Regions from separate parts of the Homo sapiens genome. Here region 2 is linked to region 1. Evidence: promoter capture Hi-C in human tissues and cell types (Jung and others, 2019). All regions are on one chromosome and are shown on one strand. Each heading gives the region's core, a stretch centred on a gene start or on the middle of the fragment in contact. The rest is flanking DNA. Distances are from core to core; before and after follow the strand shown.

Region 1 (4,826 bases), core at 773-3,272:
TGGGACTACAGGTATGTGCCACCACGCCCAGCTAATTTTTGTATTTGTAGTAGAGACCGGGTTTCACCATGTTGACCAGGATGGTCTCAATCTCTTGACCTCGTGATCCACCCGCCTCGGCCTCCCAGAGTGCTGGGATTGCAGGCGTGACCCACAGCTCGCGGCCCATTTTACTTTTAAACCGTTATTTAGCACCCAAACTCAGGGATACTTGGGAGTAGAAATTAGAACGGGACAGATAAGTGGGGAGACTGGTGTTGATGGAAACCTCAGTGAGAAAAGTGTAGATGGGATTACAGTTGACAACTGGTTGCCTTGATTTAGGATAATTGGGGAAAGGGAGGCTGGGGCACATTGAAACACCCAGGTTGTCGCTGCCTACCCCAGCTGCTAACATGACCAGCTGTAAACTTGCTCTGTTCTTAGAAACCTCCCTTCCAAAACATGGATTCTCCCGCCAGTGCTCAAGATGGGACACATTACCACTAAGTAAGCACTTTTCTTAGGAGCATTTCTTAGGCTGTTAAAATGCCAAGACTCCTAACCATCCTTGGTAGCTTTGAACCTATGTAAAGAGGTCAGTTAGCTGCCCTAGTTTATTCCTCAGAATGATGAGATTTGGCACTGAAAATATTGTTCATACTGAGCCTCCCATCAAATGCAATAAGTAGATAACCACAAATACCCACCCTTTTATGCTCATAACTCAGCATGTTGGAAACTATTTTCCCTTGACCTATTGCCAGCCCATCACGCCCCACACCCAGGAGAACTCAAGCCCCAAACCGGCCGCTGAATAGTCACGCTTTTCTGCAGGACATACCTACTATTAGGGCCAAAACTTTGTCCACCCTTCAAAGGAAGTCGATGTTTCCATATAAAGGTCCCCTCAAATGCAACAGCAAGCCCGTGGGAGAGGGGTTAGCAGAGGCTACGGCCAGCCCACGGGCTTTCTTCGACCTTGATTATGACCAGGAGTGTAGCTGTTAATTGCGAGGCTTGCCTCAAGGTGGAAAACAGTATCGGTTTCCACTGCCACCCCAGAGAAGGCAAGTTCCGCGGCTGGCGGTGCTGGGGACACGGTCCCTCCCAGGCCCATCTCTTGCCACCCAGAGAGCTGCTCGGAGGCCGCCTACAGGTGCAATCCCGGCACTGCGGCCGGGGCGTCGGGCCGGGGAGGGCGTCCAAGCCCACCAGCATCTCCGCCGGCCCTTCCCAAAGCCTGAACAGGGCCCCGGCGTGCCCGCCGCCTTCTACCCCCGGTTTCCCCGCGCCTCTGCCCCGGCGCGGTTTGGATAGGAAGCTGGGAGCCCTCCCAGGCTCCGCAGACTCGGATTTGGGAGGGGGTGGGACGCGGCCGAGGCTTCCCCTCGAATCTGCGGCAAGCCTGGCTCCAGGAAAGTTTTTCAAAGTTCCCAGCAGCGTCTGCCCAGGTCGCCTCCGCGGGGCGAGCAGACGGCGGCAAGCGCGCCAGCCTCGCCGCCGCCTCTGCCGCCAGCAGAGCGCTCTGGGCGGCTCGCTCGCGGGAAGCGGGCCGAACTCCCGGCGGGCAGGCAGGCCCTCCTCCCGGGGCGAAAGCCGCAGCTGACGCAGGCGGTTCGGAAGGCGGAAGCTGCCCCGCTCCGACCGCTCAGTCAGCGCCGCGGCGCCTACACCTGGGGCCCCGACGCGCGGGCAAAGGCGCACGGCCCGGGGCGCCCGAGGGGGCGGTCCCCGCTGGGGGCCTCCAGGCGTCCCTGAGCAACGATCCCTTCCAAGTACCTCCCCGCACTCTCCCTTCCCTCCTGGCCCGAAGCTCCCGAGGGCGGGGGTTGGTGTGGGGCCCTGGTTCTTCTACGCCGCCCTGAGCATCCCGCTGCCCCCAACCCCTTCCAAGTTCCTCCTCGCACTACCCCCTCCCCAGCAACGTGAAGGGGAGGGGCGTGCCCAGGGTGAGCACGCCCTCTCATGAATATTAATAAGCGCGCATGCGCCCTGCCCGGCGTGCTGGGTAGAGGTGGCCAGCCCCGGCCGCTGCTGCCAGACGGGCTCTCCGGGTCCTTCTCCGAGAGCCGGGCGGGCACGCGTCATTGTGTTACCTGCGGCCGGCCCGCGAGCTAGGCTGGTTTTTTTTTTTCTCCCCTCCCTCCCCCCTTTTTCCATGCAGCTGATCTAAAAGGGAATAAAAGGCTGCGCATAATCATAATAATAAAAGAAGGGGAGCGCGAGAGAAGGAAAGAAAGCCGGGAGGTGGAAGAGGAGGGGGAGCGTCTCAAAGAAGCGATCAGAATAATAAAAGGAGGCCGGGCTCTTTGCCTTCTGGAACGGGCCGCTCTTGAAAGGGCTTTTGAAAAGTGGTGTTGTTTTCCAGTCGTGCATGCTCCAATCGGCGGAGTATATTAGAGCCGGGACGCGGCGGCCGCAGGGGCAGCGGCGACGGCAGCACCGGCGGCAGCACCAGCGCGAACAGCAGCGGCGGCGTCCCGAGTGCCCGCGGCGCGCGGCGCAGCGATGCGTTCCCCACGGACGCGCGGCCGGTCCGGGCGCCCCCTAAGCCTCCTGCTCGCCCTGCTCTGTGCCCTGCGAGCCAAGGTAGGAGCCCTTCTCCGGGCCTCCCTCCCAGCCGTCCTCTCCCTCCCCTCGCGGCGCCCTGGGCGGTTGAGCCCCGCGAGCAGGCTCGGCAGCCCTCGAGCGCCCGACTCCTCGCCCCTGCGCCCGAGCGGCTGCACCTGGGCTGAGCGCGCCAACTCCCCCACGGGAGCCCCTGCCTCCTGAGGGTGACCCCTCCAGGCCGGACAGGGGCGCGTTCGCTCCGCTGTTGCCCCCCGGGAAGTCGTCGGATTTCTTCCGCACTCGTGCATTTTTTTTTTTTTTTGCCCCGGAATCATGTTGAGTCCTTGAACGTAGTTTCGCAAAATTATTTTCACTCGGCGAGGAGGGCTCGTCGGGGCGGGGAGTGGGAGGGAGTCGCCACCTCTATACTCGAAGAAAACAGCTTTCTCCCGCGCTGACCTACCTCCTTCCCTCGCCGGCAGGTGTGTGGGGCCTCGGGTCAGTTCGAGTTGGAGATCCTGTCCATGCAGAACGTGAACGGGGAGCTGCAGAACGGGAACTGCTGCGGCGGCGCCCGGAACCCGGGAGACCGCAAGTGCACCCGCGACGAGTGTGACACATACTTCAAAGTGTGCCTCAAGGAGTATCAGTCCCGCGTCACGGCCGGGGGGCCCTGCAGCTTCGGCTCAGGGTCCACGCCTGTCATCGGGGGCAACACCTTCAACCTCAAGGCCAGCCGCGGCAACGACCGCAACCGCATCGTGCTGCCTTTCAGTTTCGCCTGGCCGGTGAGTGACTACTCGGGAAGGAGGCCGGGCGGAGCCTCACACCCGCGCCTGGCCGAGCCCTGTTATCCCTTGCGAGAGGGATTTAAAGGGCTTTGGCTTGAAACTAGGCGCTAACTGGGGAAATCTCTAGGGGTGGCGGGTGAGGGAGCCGGGACACTATAGTTAGATCTCGGCTGGGGTAGTCGAGGTGGGTCCCATTCCTGCTGCTATTTGCTTAGTGCACAAAAGTGGGGATCCCAGAGGGTTTATGGGACCAGGCTCCTAGGAAGGCCGGTGTAAACTTGCAACTTGAAGTTCCCAGAGTAACTCTCCCGGCCCCAAGCCAAGAGATCGTTGTAGCTGATCTCTTTGCTTAACTAATTAAACCTGGTGCGCCGTGGAAGGCGACTCGGCGCAGTTCTGGCCTGCGAACGCCGTCCAAATTGGCAACCTCCCCTTTCCCGTGAACGGCCGGGAGGGCGGGTGTGTCCTTCCTGGAGGGTGTGGGGGAGTCCGTTTCCCGCTGCTCCCCGGGAGATTTTAGTGTGTGCGGGGGCGCTCTCCAGGTTCGGCTTAAGGGCCGGGGGCGGCCGCCGCAGGAGGAGGTTCTTGGGGCCCTCACAGGAGCTGTAGACCTGGGAACCCCCGCCCGCTGCTGGCCCCTTCCTGCCCCCGCCCCCGAGTGGTGTAGCTCTTGTGGCCTCACTTCCAGCGGTTCCCGGGCTCTGGAACAGCTGTGTTTGCAGACTTCCCCGGGAAGGGCGGGTGCACGGCCCCCGCAAGCCTTCGGGGGCCGTGCCAAGGCTTGGAAGGGGTGGTCTTCTGGAGGTAGTGCCTGAGGGTGTAAGTGATAGGCCCTCATCCCCCCGCCCCATTCCGCCCCCAAAGGAGCTCGAGGCCCGGGCCCAGCTGGCAGATCCTGCAGCGAGGCCCTTGCAACATCCCAAAATGGGTGGAAGGAAGATGGGTGCGATTGCAGAAGGGGAGGAAAGGGAAATGTTGGGGGTGTGCCCTCTGCCTGGCTCCTGCTGTCCAGGAGGCATGACTCATTGCCAAGACTGGGGCTTGGCCTAGCCTGTGCTGGGAGGGTGGGTGGTGAGAGGGGGAGCTCGGTGCCCCAGAGCATTGCTTTCCACCACGTGCTCTAATGGGGTGCACTCTGCTGCCTCCTGTCCGCCGGCTTAGGTTGTGATTCTGGGAGGAGACAGAGGGGAGACTATCTGGCTGTGTCTGTGTATGAAGCTTGGGGTGGCTCTTAAAATCCACGATTACAGGAGCTGGCATTATAAAGTGCCCTCTGCTGTGGGTGAGATAAGACAGTTATCAAAAACTGCCATGAAAAGGGGTTTATAAAAAGAAAAATTAAAACCAACGCTGTCTGTGAAGCTCTCTTGAGGTCCAAGGGCTGTTTCTGTTGTGGGATTTCATTTTTACCAAGAGTATTTATCTTGTTTGTTAATCCCCTATTAGGGAGAACTTTAAGCTAAAGAGTCTGGCTGCGTTTAAATCTGGCTGGCCCAAGCTGAC
Region 2 (4,826 bases), core at 1,695-4,194, 1.1 Mb after region 1:
CCAGGAAGTGTGCCCTCACCAGACACTGTTCCTGCTAGCACCTTGATCTTGGAATTCCCAGCCTCCAGAACTGTGAGAAATAGATTTCTATTGTTTAAAAGCCACTCAGTCTGTGACATTCTGTTAAAGCAGTCTAAATCGACTAATAGTACCAAAAAGAAGCATCATTTTCTTTTTCTCCTTTTCTTTTTTCTTTTCTTTTTTTTTAGACAGAGTCTTGTTGCATTGCCCAGGCTGGAGGGCAGTGGCATGAAGATCATATCTCACTGTAGCCTCAACCTCCCACGCTCAAGTAATCCTCCCACCTTAGCCTCCGGAGTAGCTGGGACTGCAGGCACATGCTACCTACCATGCCTGGCTAATTTTTTAAAATATTTTTTGTAGATACAGGGTCTCCCTAGTCTGGTCTTTAATTCCTGGGCCCAAGTGATCCTCCCACCTTGGCCTCCCAAAGTGCTGGGATTACAGGTGTGAGCCGCCATGCCTGCGTTTTCTACACAGCCACATGCCACCATCAACATTAAGACATTAACACTGAGACCTTACTGCCACTTATTTATCAGGTCCCAAGAAGGTTCTCCAGTTGCCCTAATAATGAAGATCCAATTGAAAGTCACATGTTGCATATTTTGTCATATCTCTTTTTAGTCTTATTGATTCCAGAACAGTTCCTCAGCCTTTCTTTATATTGGCCTTGGCACTTCTGAAGAGCACAGGCCAGTTGTTTTACAGAATGTCCCTCCATTTTCCTTTGGCTGACACTTTCTCATAGTCAGGTTCAGGTGATGCACCTTTGGCAGGACTATCAGAGAAGCCATAGTGGGCTGCACCATTGTTCCAGATTCAGTGTGTTTCATGGCTGGCGGCGCTCACTCTGATCACTCAGTCGAACATGGTGTCTGCCAGGCTTTTCAACTCCAACGTTACTCTTTTCCCCTCTGTAATTAGAAGGTATGGGAGGAGGAAGTTAGTAGAGAATATGAAATATAGACTTTCATTTTTAAAACATAAATCAGCAAAAGATCTTTTATATCAAATTTTAGTTAATTTTCTAAAATTGATTGGCTTTCTTAAGTCTCTTTGTTCTAGATGCACACAGAAGGAAATTATCTCTTGGTGTCTCTGTTTCTCATTTCATGGGGAGGCAGGTCCTACAATGCTTGAAAACCAAGGCCTATACTCTCTCACCCCTATGTTTTTAAGTTTTAATTGACATTTAATGTATTCTTTAAGTGCACAAGTTATGAAGTGTACAGCCCAACACATTTTCACAAAGGAAACACATCAGATCAAGAATCACGATGTTATAGACCCACCCCAGCAGATTCTCACCTTGTGTCTGCTTCCATTCTCAATCACCTCCATGGGTCACCGTTGCCAACTATACATTTTGCTGGTTTTTGAACTTAATTTTCATGGAATTCTTTAGTACCTGTATGATTGTGCCTGATTTCTTTCACTCAACATTATGATTATGAGATTCAGCCTTATTCATGCCACTGTATATAATTGTAGTTATTGCCCCTCCTGGGCTACGGTCCACATGTGGGGTCTTTTACTCCTTCCTTCACTTGACAAGCACCTGTGTATTAGTCCATTCTCACACTGCTACAAAAAATTAACTAAGACTGGGTAATTTATAAAGAAAAGAGTAATTGGCTCACCTCCTCTGCAGGCTGCACAGGAAGCATGATGCTGGCATCTACTTGGTGTCTGGGGAGGCCTCAGAAAACTTACAATCATCGGGGAAGGCAGAGGTGGAGCAGATACATCACATGGCTAGAGCAGGAGGAAGAGAGGGCGGCAGGAGGTGCCACACACTTTTGAAGACTGAGATCTTGTGAGAACTCACTCATTATCATGAGAATAGTACCAAGGGGATGGCACTAAATCATTCATGAGAAGTTCACCCCCCATGATCCAGTCACCTCCCACCGGGCCCTACCGCCAACATTGGAGATTACTATTTGACATGAAATTTGGGCAGGGACACAGATCCAAATCATATCAACCTACTAAGCATCCAGAAATTTAAGTAAAGTGAGTAACACTGGTGCTTACACTTTTGACCATCTAGTCTGTCTAAATTCTCTTCACTTTTTTTTGAGATGGAGTCTCGCTCTGTCACCCAGGCTGGAGTGCAGTAGCGCCATCTCGGCTCACTGCAACCTCCACCTCCAAGGTTCAAGCCATTCTCCCACCTCAGCCTCCCCAGTAGCTGGTATTACAGCTGCATGCCACCACACCCGGCTGATTTTTTGTACTTTTAGTAGAGACGGGGTCTTACCATGTTGACCAGGCTGGTCTCTAACTCCTGGTCTCGAGTGATCCGCCTGCCTTGGCCTCACAAAGTGTTGGGATTAAAGGCATGAGTCACCTTGCCTGGCAATTCTCTTCACTTTTAACCCAGTGGGGAAGCAATAGTAGTTGTCCACTGTATACCTGACACTGTGCCAGGTGTTAACACATACCATGTCTCACTTAATCCTTCCTCCAATCTAGCAATATATCATTATGTCTGTTTTTTAGGGAAGGAATCTGATATTTACAGAGAGGTTTCCATAGTTCGCATAAGACCTTATAGTTAGGTGACAGAGCAGATATTCAAACCTACATCTATCCATGTGCAAAGCTGGCTACAGCAGTCATGAAGATGCCCTGCTTCATATCCCCTGAACACACCTGAGTTTACCTGCAGCTTTGGTGGACTCATCTCATGCACACTAACAGTTTCTCTCTGCTCTGTGTCCAAGGGCTTTCTCTGACATGACAATCCTGCCCAGAAATGCCAGGCAATGAATGCCCCCAAAGGTAATCCTTAACCAATGTGGAAAGGAAGTTCTTGGATAAATACCCCCGCTTCTCTGACCTGCATTTGACATGGCTCTGCAGGGCATCTGCTGCAGCACAGAGGCCCAGTTGCCCACAGCATTAACCAGCTCAATGGGGCACCCAATGTGGATTTCTCTCATTTTCATTGCACTTTCTTCAGTCTGTCATGTGGCTTTCTGGAATCTCCTCACAAATAAAGAACCTGCACTAAAGTCCTTCTTCCTTGAGTTGCTTTCAAGGGAACCCAAATTAGAACACTTATTCTCTCTACAGTTCCTTGTACTGGGGTACCTAGTGCTTCTGAATAAAGCTGCATCCCAGATAACGCCCCAGTGAGGAGTTGTACAAGCCTGGGCTTTTCCTCCCTGCCATAGAATGCCTAGCCTACAGCATTCCATGGCCCCTTGGAGGCGGAAAACTGACAAGACAACCAGGTATCTTTTCTCTAAATGTCTAAAGAGGGAGGAGAAAGAGGTGTCATTTTGGTGTGTGGGTGGCAAAGGGACAAAGCAGATCAAGCTGGAGGGACTCACAAAGCAGGAGGAGTCATTAGAGGTCACAAGTTTGGATGCAGGGGTGTGAATAGGATTTCTAGCTAAGAGAACAAGCTTTGGCTCTAGAGAGACCTGGCTTCAAAACCTGATTCCTCCACTTAAACTATAGCTTTGTGACCTTCACTGAGTGGCTTGTCCTCCATACTTCAGTGTCCTTGTGCCATATGCTGTTGTGTCAAACTCCTGTTAACCTCAATAGCAAAGGGGACCCCATTCAAGAGGCCAGAGAAGAGACCCAGAGCCAGAAAATGAGACATGGGGTTTTATTAGGGGGCTCACATACAGGGGAGAGGGTCCAGTGGCAGGAAAACCGCAATTGCTTGCAAATAGCATGCAGTTTATGTAGCATTTTCACATAGCACCTTCCCCCTAATGACATCCAGCTGGCAACCTTCATTTAACCCAAAACTCAGGACCTCAGTGCCCTAGGCAGCTTGTGTTCCACAGAAGAGCCCAGGGGCTCTGATATTTGTCATTGACAAGGAACTAATCAGGTTGGCCACTCCCGGATGCCCTAGCTTGGAACACACATTCAGGTGCATCTGCCATACAGGGTTATTCTAAGGATGTGTTTAAGTTATTGCTATCAGGTGTGTTTACCCTGATATCAATAATTTGTGGTGTGGTGATCATAATTCTGCCAATCTTATAGGATTTTTTAGCGGATTAAATTTGAAAATATATGTAAAGCTCTTAACACAACTGTCAGGAAGTAAAGCTTTTTTTATGACGTTAGCAATGTGAATGTAGCAGTGAAGATGTGGGTTCTGTAGCTAGACGGCCTGGGTTCAGAGGCACAGCTTTTCTACCTCCTGGCTCAAGACTCAGTTTCCACACCTGTAAAATGGGGATAATAGTGCAAATCTCATACGGTTGTTATGGAGATTATATACAGACAGAGAGGGAGAGCAGGCACTTCAAAGGGTGTGTATAGCAGCACAGCATAAGCACTCTAATGTTATCTGTAAATCTAGAAAAATAACTTGAATCCATAAGCTATCTGGAGTCAGGAAAGCCCTATCATGGGTGAGGATGTACACAGTTTTGCTTAACTAACGTACCAGTTGGGGTATTAGCTCATCAAGAAGAACAATATGGAAAGACAGTCTTAAATGTTTTTCTCAGGCAGAAGCTGTATGTGAGCTGGGGATCAGCCAGGGAGAGGCAGAAACCTTTGGGTGCCAGGAGGAGCTGATTCTCTGATATAAATAGGGCAGAACTTGGAGTCTTCAGGGAATGAGGTGGAATGAATGGAAGGGATTCACAGAAGCGGGAAGAAGAAAACAGAGAAGGTGGAGTTGACACAGATAAAGAAAATGGATGGCTACCTCCTCTCTTCCAGGTAAAGCTTGCTGCTGCCAATGTGTTCTCCCTCCCCAACTAGAAACACTTCCCAGGAAAGGCCAAAAGTGCTTGCATTACTTCCTGAGAGCTCCATCT

The links. Contacts are between HindIII fragments. The study calls those that stand out against the background at their distance.
Region 2: a contact is called between a fragment that was not itself captured here and the fragment with the promoter of JAG1 in region 1, in 1 of the 25 tissues and cell types used here (dorsolateral prefrontal cortex).

What each region holds. Positions count from the first base shown.
Region 1 is chr20:10,671,195-10,676,020 of GRCh38, reverse strand. JAG1 (jagged canonical Notch ligand 1) reads left to right here and starts at 2,022. Exons shown (of 26, transcript NM_000214.3): 1 at 2,022-2,571; 2 at 3,015-3,320. The coding sequence starts at 2,491. RefSeq lists a silencer at 1,400-1,799. The HindIII fragment of the contact is 9,344 bases long and covers 1-4,826 here.
Region 2 is chr20:9,603,209-9,608,034 of GRCh38, reverse strand. The region is part of intron 3 of PAK5 (p21 (RAC1) activated kinase 5); the gene reads left to right. It overlaps LOC105372523 (a long non-coding RNA gene), which reads right to left. Exons shown (of 3, transcript XR_937250.3): 3 at 861-938. Among named protein-coding and RNA genes, the nearest start is that of LAMP5-AS1, 91 kb to the right of the region's middle. The HindIII fragment of the contact is 7,595 bases long and covers 1-4,826 here.